Regions from separate parts of the Homo sapiens genome. Here region 2 is linked to region 1. The links are contacts of gene promoters, found by promoter capture Hi-C in blood cells and fetal thymus (Javierre and others, 2016). All regions are on one chromosome and are shown on one strand. The core of a region is centred on a gene start or on the middle of the fragment in contact, and the rest is flanking DNA. Distances in the headings are between cores, read along the strand shown. Region 1 holds the start of AMHR2 (anti-Mullerian hormone receptor type 2). Region 2 has its middle 4.4 kb from the start of SP1.

Region 1 (5,644 bases), core at 1-2,500:
TCCCCTCCTGAGAGCTTGCGTCTCAACCCACCCCCACCCTGGTCACAAGACCCCTTATCTCCCAGTCACCAGGGCAACCAACTTCCCAAGGCCAGGAGGAGGAAAGCGTGGGGCGGGAGTAGGGTGAGAACTGGCCCTGGTTCCACCTCTCATCCTAACCTGGGCCCCAGCCCCCATCAGGCTTCAGTACCCTTGGGTGGCTACCTGGGGCAGCCTGGGGACCCTGGGAGCCAGGAGTCCCAGGGCTCCCTGGAGGAGGCAGATGGCTGTAATTGGCATTGCAGAAGTCAGTGCCACAGGAGCAGGTGAAGAGAGTGGAGCCAGGGCTGGGGTGGGCTCGGGGACTTGGGTCACAGTGGAGGGACTCACAGCCTGGCTCATCACTGTCTCGGCATCCTGATGGGATGGGATTAGGGGAAGAGGAGAGAAAGGGGGGGCAAGGAAGAAAGCACAATGGGGTGTGGAAACAGAGGGTAAATCCCTTCTCTATCAGAGGCGTCCCTTCCAGCTCTCATGGGCTTTTCTTTCCCACCAGATGTTCTATTTCTCCCCTTCCCCCTTGGTTGCCACCCACACCCCAGGATGTGTCTGTCTCCCACCCTAGCCATCACCTGCCATATACTTTGCCATTCACCTTGCATTTCCACCTGTGCCCGGTCTTGGGTCAGGTTCCAGATCCCAAAGCAGCAGCGGCTGTAGAGGCAGCGGATAGCTCTGGGGAGCTCTGTGCCTGTATCTAGCAGCTCTCCCAGTGTCTTTGTGCTTCCCCGCACTCCAGGGGCCTCAAAGAACACACAGGTTCGCCTGTTTGGGGGTGCTGAGGCCCAGGGTGGGGAAAGGAAAAGATTCAAGGTGGGAGTGAATGCAGAGGCAAAAAACTGGCCAAAAGAATAGACAAAACATGTTCCACATCCCAGCGTCAGTATGGTAAAGCCACAGGAGGAAGCAGGGTCAGCAGAGGCCTGGAACCTGAGCCCTGCCATGGGGACACATGGCTCTATCCTTCACCCTTACTCACCCAGCCCACTCACCACTCTTCCAAAGGGGTGGCTCTTGCTTCAAGCGCCCCTTTCCCTTGCTGGATGGATGGAGAGACCCTTCCCCTCCCTGTAGACACTTACCTTCCACAGCTGTGGGAAGTAATGCCCAAAGCCCCAAAGACCCTAGCATCTTGCTGGAGGATGGCAGCAGCAGAAGGAGAAGAGCATAAGCCAGCACAGCTGCCCCTGGCCAAATCTTTCTTCAGATACAGGGCATCCTGGGGCTTCTGATCCCTCAGTCCCCAACTCCGCCCCCCTCATCCTATCCCAGCCTCTGTGGGGGAGAAGGCTGCTGTGGGGGAGAGGGTGGGTGTGGGGAAAGCAGGGAAAGAAAGGGAGGAGCAGAGAACCAATCTCATATCCTCTTCTCTTCTGCAACCTCCTCTTTGCTCTGCATAGTGAGAGGAGGGGAACTTGGAGGCCCAGCTGAGAACCCAGTGATGCCTAATTTCAAATCTTTGCCCTTCCCTGACCTTGGAAGAAGATGCTGGACTCTGTTGACTCTTCTCAGGAGGAAACCAATGTGAGGTCAAATGCTTAGAGCCATTCAGCTCTGCCCAAGATCCTTTCTAGCCTAAGATCTCTTTATATTCAGGGTTCATATCTGCAACTGCTTGGGCAGAGGAAGGCCTCACAGCCCATATTAGAGGTTACCTTGTTTTCCAACTTAAGAATCAGAAAGTATACAAAACTTACCTGAATTTTTAAAAAACACATTGAAAACAGTAACAATGGTAAATTTTGCTATGTGGATTTTTTTTTTTTTTTTTTTGAGACGGAGTCTCGCTCTTCTCCCCCAGGCTGGAGTGCAGTGGCACGATCGCAGCTCACTGCAACCTCCGCCTCCTGGGTTCAAGCTATTCTCCTGCCTCAGCCTCCTGAGTAGCTGGGATTACAGGCGCCTGCCACCACACCTGGCTAATTTTTGTATTTTTAGTAGAGACGGGGTTTCACCATGTCAGCCAGGCTAGTCTCGAACTCCTTACCTCAGGTGATTTGCCCGCCTCGGCCTCCCAAAGTGCTGGGATTATAGGCGTGAGCCACCATGCCTAGCCGTGGATTTTACTTAAAAAAAAAAAACACATTGGTTCACAGGCTGAACAAATACCCATTATTAAGGAGGTAACAAATTTCTTATCAAGCACCTACTATGTGCTGGGGCACAGCTAGGGCTATGCATTTTACAATCATCTCATCTAATTCTCCCCTGAAATATTTATTATTATTATTTTATTTATTTATTTTTTGAGACCGAGTGTCGCTCTGTCACCAGGCTAGAGTGCAGTGGTGCCATCTTGGCTCACTGCAACCTCTGACTCCCTGGTTCAAGCGATTCTCCTGCCTCAGCCTCCCGAGTAGCTGGGATTACAGGCACGCACCACCATGTCCAGCTAATTTTTGTATTTTTAGTAGAGACAGGGTTTCACCATGTTGGCCAGGATAGTCTCGATCTCGTGACCTCGTGATCTGCCCGCCTTGGCCTCCCAAAGTGCTGGGATTACAAGTGTGAGCCACTGTGCCTGGCCTATTATTTTTATTATTTCCATTTTATAGGTAAGAAAACTGAACTTACGTAAGTCGCCCAAAGTCATTCAGCTAGGAAATAGCAGAGCTGGAATTTGAACTTAGGCAGGTCTGACTCCAAAGTCCAGGTTCTAGTCTTATTTTTATTATTATTTTTGTACTTTTAGTAGAGACGGAGTTTCACCATGTTGGCCAGGATGGGGTCGATCTTTTTTTTTTTTTTTTTTTTTTTGAGATGGAGTCTTGCTCTGTCGCCCAGGCTGGAGTGCAGTAGCGCGATCTCGGCTCACTGCAAGCTCTGCCTCCCGGGTTAACGCCATTCTCCTGCCTCAGCCTCCCGAGCAGCTGGGACTACAGGCGGCCGCCACCACGCCCGGCTAATTTTTTGTATTTTTAGTAGAGACGGGTTTTCACCGTGTTAGCCAGGATGGTCTTGATCTCCTGACCTCGTGATCCGCCCGCCTCGGCCTCTCAAAGTGCTGAGATTACAGGCGTGAGCCACTGCGCCCGGCCGAAGGGGTCGATCTCTTAACCTCGTGATCCCTCCGCCTCGGCCGCCCAAAGTGCTGGGATTGCAGGCGTGAGCCACCGCACCCGGCCGGCTCTATTCTTTGTATTACACTATACTGCCTGAAAGACGTACAAAATTCAACAATGAAAAAAAATTACCACTTAATACTATACTTGGACATTTGAATTTAAATTGTTGAGAAAATATGCATCATTACCTGCCAACAGGCCACTAACTAAAAAGGGAGGGTACAGTTCAAACTATCACCACCAGAGGTCAGCAGAGGAGAAATTCCCTGCTGCGGTGAGAGGGCAGAAAGTACCTCCTCTGATGACTAATACATATAGTATACCTCCTACATTTACTAAGCTTCAGGGACTATAAAATGTGAAGGGCGGGCACAGGATGTGGAGAGTTTCAGCATGGAGTTGGGAGGAGAGGGCTATGGCTTGTTCTGCAGTAGAGACAGAGGAGTCCAACTCCACCAGACTCTTTCCCAGAGTAAGAAACAACAGAAATAGGTAATCACTTCCACACCTGTGAGCCACTGGCTCCTTGAGAATTAAGAGTCAGAGGGGACTTGTTCTCTGTTTCCCTAGCTTTCTGTCCCCCTAGTGGCTTCCTGGAAACCCTTTCTTGGAATGATCTGGCTTAGACCAGGGAGGACAGTCTGAGTACCGACATTTTTTTTTTTTTTTTTTTTTGAGACGGAGTCTCGCTCTGTCACCCAGGCTGGAGTGCAGTGGTGCGATCTCGGCTCACTGCAACCTCTGCCTACCGGGTTCAAGCGATTCTCCGGCCTCAGCTTCCTGAGTAGCTGGGACTACAGGCGCATACCACCACGCCCGGCTAATTTTTGTATTTTTAGTAGAGACGGGGTTTCGCCATGTTGGCCAGGCTGGTCTCAAACTCCTGACCTCAGGTAATCCGCCCCCCTCGGCCTCCCAAAGTGCCGGGATTGCAGACGGGAGCCACTGCGCCCAGCTTGAGTACTGACTTTTTGATTCTGGGGTCTTTCTTCTGGGAAACCTGCATGAAAGGAAGAGATAGTAAAAGTTCCAGTAGTTGTGAAACAGCAGCGGGAGGAATGACCAGGGCTCGAGATAGCCGCCCATCCTTCTTTGGACCCTTCCAGGAGTCTGCAGGGCCTTGCCAGTGAGATGGAATGTTGTGCTTCCAGCTACTTTCCTTCACTAGCCCCAGATCAGATAAGTCTGGGGTGGTGTGTGTGGTGGGGTGTGAGGGGAGATTTGAAGGTGAAATAGCTTCTTTTGTCTGGAATGTCTCAGGAGACTATCTCCTCCAGAGTGGGAGCAGCGTAAGGATCAGGCAGAAAGGCAGTCTCCTCACCCAAAGCTTCGGATAACTAATTCTTTCCAAGATAGAAACATTCCAGTCAGGTTTATGGGAACTATACCTGCTCTGGGCTGTTAGGTTTTAGAGTTAAGATGGTGATAGAGGCTGGGCGCTGTGGTTCATGTCTGTAATCCCAGTACTTTGGGAGGCCAGGAGTCCCCCTGGGTAACATAGCGAGACCCCCACCTATATTATTTTTAAAAAAAAATTTCCTTTTTTTTTGAGACGGAGTCTCACTCTGTCATTCAGGCTGGAGTAAAGTGGTGCAATCTCCGCTCACTGCAACCTCCGCCTCCTGGGTTCAAGCAATTCTCCTGCCTCGGCCTCCCAAGTAGCTAGGATTACAGATGCCTGTCACCATGCCTGGCTAATTTTTTGTATTTTTAGTAGAGATGGGGTTTCACTATGTTGGCCAGGCTGGTTTCAAACTCCTGATCTCAGGTGATCCACCGCCTAGGCCTTCCAAAGTGCTGGGATTACAGGCGTGAGCCACTGCGCGGGGCCAAAAAAAATGTATTTCATTAGGTGCTGGGCCTACAAAGATAGAGGTGTGATTACTGCCCTCTGGGAACTCATAGTGTAGAAATGCAGGTGGATATTGACAAGCAACCGGAAAACTGTGTTTCCTACTAGGGGCATGAGGAAGGAGCTATACAAATAGATCAAGTAAGCTAATTCTGCCTAGGGCATAGAAGAAAGGTGCCCAGAGAGTTTCACAGAGAAGGGGATATTTAAATAGTCCCAAAGGTAAACACAATGGTAAGAGGAGAACAGTCCTTCTAAGCAAAGGGAATGGCAAGAGTAAAGGCATGGAGATATAAACACAAAGGCTTGTGTGTTAAAGGTGGAAGGAGTGAGGAGGAAGCAGTATGAGATATGAGACAGAAAATCACCTTAGAGAGAGACGGACCAGATTGGACAGGTTTTCAATTCTGTATCAAGGAGCTTAGGCTTTCCCTAAAAGCAAAGAATTTTAGGCAGGGGCCTGGTGGCAATTGGAAGATGGATGACTACTGGGGTTTGGAGAGATCAGTTGCAAGACCTAAGCAGTAAACAAAGTGAGTACTGAGACAGTGGAAATGAAAATAAAAGAGGAGGCCGGGCGTGGTGGCTCACGCCTGTAATCCCAGCACTTTGGGAGGCCGAGGCGGGCAGATCACGAGGTCAAGAGATGGAGACCACCCTGGCCAACATGGTGAAAACCCGTCTCTAC
Region 2 (4,926 bases), core at 39-2,538, 47 kb after region 1:
TGAGCTCAAATCCTGCCACTGCACTCCAGCCAGGACAACAAAGCAAGACCTTGCTCCAAAATAAGTAAATATATAGACTGGGCGCGGTGGCTCATGCCTGTAATCCCAGCATTTTGGGAGGCCGAGGCAGGCGGATCACCTGAGGTCAGGAGTTCAAGACCAGCTTGACCAACATGGAGAAACCCCGTCTCTACTAAAAATATAAAACTAGCCAGGCATGGTGGGACATGTCTGTAATCCCAGCCACTTGGGAGGCTGAGGCAGGAGAATCGCTTGAATCCAGGAGGCAGAAGTTGTAGTGAGCCAAGATCGTGCCATTGCACTCGGGCCTGGGCAACGACAGTGAAACTCCATCTCAAAGAAAAAAAAAAAAGTAAATATATAGATGCTTTTTAATTTTTACTGTCTAGCTCCTGAAAAAAAAAAAAAAAAGCCTACTCCCAGGACGGATCAAATGGCATCATCCTCTTAGATACCTTTATTATAAAATTTATCAGAATACATGACAATTAATTTCATCTCTCACTGTATCAAGGTTTCTCAAAATGAAATGTCACACACTCTCAGAATCCTCTGGGTTCTTTTTTCAAAAAAGGCAGATTCCTAGATTTCCACCCTAAACCTATTTTTAAGTAGCTCTTTCAAGTGATTAGGCCCTAAACCTAGTTTAAAACACACCAAGAAGGCTGGGCGCAGTGGCTCATGCCTGTAATCCCAGCATTTTGGCAGGCAGAGGCGGGCAGATCACTGGAGGTCAGGAGTTCGAGACCAGCCTGACCAACATGGTGAAACCCCATCTCTACTAAAAATACAAAAATTAGTCGGGCGTGGTGGTGCATGCCTATAGTCCCAGCTACTCGGAAGGCTGAAGCAGGAAAATCGCTTGAACCTAGAGGCGGAGGTTGCAGTGACCGGGGATCATGCCACTGCACTCCAGCCTGGGCGACAGAGCAAGATTTGGTCTCAAAGAAAAGAAAAGAAAACAAAACAAAACAAAAACACCAAGAGAAGAAACTGGGGAAAAGAAACTTCCAGAAAGGGAGAAATTTCCTGGAAGGAAGAAACTGCATTACTCATCTTTGTAAACCAAGCTCTGAAGATTCTAATAGCTGTTTAGTCCATTCAGCAACTGTCCATACCTAAACTTGCTTAGGGGTGGAGGTAGGGAGAGGAAACTTAACACCGTGGAGGAGTATTCTAAACATTTCACATATTTATCTAATTTAATTATTCCTACCAATTTAAGAGATAGTTGTCCCCTTTTACAGATGAGAAAACTGAGGCTCAGATATTTTAGTTAAATTATGACTGTTCTGTTTAGTTCCAAAGCCTGTGTTTTTTCCATAGTCCTAGACTACACCCGAATTGGGAATTAGGATAAAATTAAACTGACAAAAAGACCTAAATTCAGAAATTCAATAGCCATCATCCTTTTTACAATCCTTTCCCCTTTGCTCCTCCAGAAGAAGACAATTCAGCATGAGGCCAGTGAGGAATGCCCTAGACGTATACTAGTTTATTGATAGTCCCTGAGAGCAAATGAATGACATGATCCATCTTGTCCAATTGCTCTGTAAAAACCTGAAAAAGTGTTCTTTAGACTGAAAAAAAAAAACAAAAACAAAAAAACCAACTTATATCAAGGCTATTCAGATCCCTTACATGCACACACGCAGTGTCTATCTTTTCTTTTTTTTTTTTGAGAGTCTCACTCTGTCTCCAAGCCTGGAGTGCAGTGGTGCGATCTCAGCTCACTGCAACCTCTGCCGCCCAGGTTCAAGTGATTCTCCTGCCTCAGCCTCCCAAGTAGCTAGGATTACAGGTGCACGCCACTATGCCTGGCTAATTTTTGTATCTTAGTAGAGATGAGATTTCATCATGTTGGCCAGGCTGATCTCAAACTCCTGACCTCAGGTGATCCTCTGCCCACCTCGGCCTCCCAAAGTGCTGGGATTACAGGTGTGAGCCACTGCGCCCGGCAATTTTTTTTTTTCCTGAGACGGAGTCTTGCCCTGTTTCCCAGGCTGGAGTGCAGTGGCGCGACTTTGGCTCACTGCAACCTCTGCCTTTCAGATTGAAGCAATTCTTTCTGCCTCAGCGTCCCTTGTAGCTGGGACTACAGACATGTGCCACCATGCCTGGCTAATTTTTGTATTTTTAGTAGAGACAGGGTTTCACCATGTTAGCCAGGCTGATCTTGAACTCCTGACCTGAGTTGATCTGCCCGCCTCAGCCTCCCAAAGTGCTGCGATTACAGGTGTGAGGCACTGCACCTGGCTACCTGGTTAACTTTTTGATGTTTTGTTGAGATCTCATTATGTGGCCCAGTTGGTGTTGAACTCCTGAGCTCAATCCCAAAGTGCTGGGATTACAAGCACGAGCCACCATGCCCTGCTTAAAATTCGTATCTTTTTTTTTTCTATACAGAGTCTCGCTCTATGGCCCACACTGGAGTGCAGTGGCGCGATCTCGGCTCACTGCAAGCTCTGCCTCCCGGGTTCACGCTATTCTCCTGCTTCAGCCTACTGAGTAGCTGGGACTACAGGCACCCATCACCACGCCTGGCTAATTTTTTGTATTTTTAGTAGAGACGGGGTTTCACCATGTTAGCCAGGATGGTCTCGATTTCTTGACCTCGTGATCCGCCCACCTCGGCCTCCCAAAGTGCTGGGATTACAGGCATGAGCCACCGGGCCCAACCATTTTTTTTTGTTGGGGGTACAGGGTCTCGCTCTGTTGCCAGGCTGGAGTGCAGTGGCGTGATCTTGGCTCACTGCAACCTCCGCCTCCTGGGCTCAAGCGATTCTCCTGCCTCAGCCTCCCAAGTAGCTGGGACTACAGGCGCACGCCACCACACCCAGCTAATTTTGGTATTTTTAGTAGAGACAGGTTTTCACCATGTTGGCCAGGATGGTCTTGATCTCTTGACCTTGTGATCCACCTGCCTTGGCCTCCCAAAGTGCTGGGATTACAGGCGTGAGCCACTGCACCCGGCCAAATTCATATCTTTTATAAGAATGACTTCTATGAAGCCTTTCCTACCCCCCTCAGTTATTGAATACACTGGCCACTGTGCTCCTTTTATTTGCCACCATTAGAGGTATCTAAGTATCCTGTCTCCCCAACTACATTAAGCGATTTGAGGGCAGGGATGATGCCTTTTCACTTTGGATTCTCAGGGCCTGGAATATAGTTGAGTCCCAGTAAACATTTTTGTTAAATGGGAGGGGAAGCCTAATCCTGACCATCCTGAATAGTCTCCAGATATAATACTAAGATTGATTCTCAGCTTTCATTTGGGTGCCTTATAAAAGTTAAATCATTCTTCCTAATTTTTGTTTGTTTGTTTGTTTTATTTTGAGATGGAGTCTCCCTCTGTCGCCCAGGGTAGAGTGCAGTGGCAGGATATGGGCTCACTGCAACCTCCGTCTCCCAGGTTCAAGTAATTCTCCCACTTCAGCCTCCGAGGTAGCTGGAACTACAGGCACATGCCACCACCCCTGGCTAATTTTGTTATTTTTAGTAGAGATGGGGGTTTCACCATGTTGGCCAGGCTGGTCTCAAACTCCTGACCTCAAGTGATCCGCCCGTCTCAGCCTCCCACAGTGTTGGAATTACAGGCATGAGCCACCGGGCCTCTTCCTGATTTTGAACCCAATCCTCAGCTTTTTTCAGTCTCCCATTTAGGAATCTGATAATTAAGAACATTTTACAGGCCGGGCGCGGTGGCTTACCCCTGTAATCCCAACACTTTGGGAGGCTGAGGCAGGCGGGTTACCTGAGGTTGGCAGTTCGAGACCAGCCTGACCAACATGGAGAAACCCCATCTCTACTAAAAATACAAAATTACCCAGGCGTGGTGGCGCATGCCTGTAATCCCAGCTACAAAGGAGGCTGAGGCAGGAGAGTCGCTTGCACCCCGGAGGTGGAGGTTGCAGTGAGCCAACGTTGCGCCATTGCACTCTAGCCTGGGCAACAAGAATGAAACTCCATCAAACTCTCAACTACAGCTGAGTACAAAGTGGACTAACTGAAATTTCTTTTACCTGTCCTGCCTACTCTAGATTAAAGGAGGCTAGAAAAGAAGAGAGTCTTTTGACAAAACAGTAAAGTCTTGCAGTCTTCTAAACCCTTACTTTCCACCTCTCTGAACAAGAAAACAAGCCTAGACTTTTCACATCAGAAGCTTGTGATAAGCAGGCTAGGATCATTCAGTGCAATTAGGACTATAGAAGCTGGATGGAACATCACATACATCCCCGGAAGTCTTTTAAGAGCCCTGGAAAAGCAAGAAACTGATCCAAAAAGAAACTGAAACAAGACAGGCTTCTTTCTGGTTGGCAAGCCCAGAACTTGTGAGAAATTCAGTACTGGCTGCTGTTAACTGGTTGCTGATAATCTTTTTTGTGTTTGTTTCTTTGTTTGTTTTTATGAGACAGAGTTTTGCTCTTGTTGCCCAGGCTGAAGTGCAATGGCGCAATCTCAGTTCACTGCAACCTCCACCTCCCGGGTTCAAGTGATTCTCCTGCCTCAGCCTCCTGAGTAGCTGGGATTACAGGCATGCACCACCATGCCCGGCTAATTTTGTATTTTTTTAGTAGAGATGGGGTTTCTCCATGTTGGTCAGGCTGGTCTCCAATTCCTGACCTCAGATGATCCACCCGCCTCGGCCTCCCAAAGTCCTGGGATTACAGCTATGAGCCACCGCGCCCGGCCAATATTCTTTTTTTTTTGTTTTTTTAGAGACAGTCTCGCTCTTTCGCCCAGGCCGGACTGCAGTGGCACTATCTCGGCTCACTGCAAGCTCCGCCTCCCAGGTTCATGCCATTCTCCTGCCTCAGCCTCCCGAGTAGCTGGGATTACAGGCGCCCGCCACCTCGCCCGGCTAATTTTTTGTATTTTTAGTAGAGACGGGGTTTCACCGTG

The links. Contacts are between HindIII fragments. The CHiCAGO score rates a contact against its expected background, and 5 or more counts as called.
Region 2: a fragment that was not itself captured here is called in contact with the fragment with the promoter of AMHR2 in region 1 in 16 of 17 cell types (total B cells, erythroblasts, megakaryocytes and 13 more); the score reaches 13.3 in total B cells.

Annotation. Positions count from the first base shown.
Region 1 is chr12:53,419,461-53,425,104 of GRCh38, reverse strand. AMHR2 (anti-Mullerian hormone receptor type 2) reads right to left here and starts at 1,250. Exons shown (of 11, transcript NM_020547.3): 1 at 1,122-1,250; 2 at 635-817; 3 at 205-396. The coding sequence starts at 1,170. RefSeq lists a cis regulatory region at 3,163-3,681 and an enhancer at 3,366-3,932. The HindIII fragment of the contact is 5,088 bases long and covers 1-3,446 here.
Region 2 is chr12:53,373,318-53,378,243 of GRCh38, reverse strand. No RefSeq gene overlaps it. Among named protein-coding and RNA genes, the nearest start is that of SP1, 4.4 kb to the left of the region's middle. The HindIII fragment of the contact is 5,800 bases long and covers 1-4,188 here.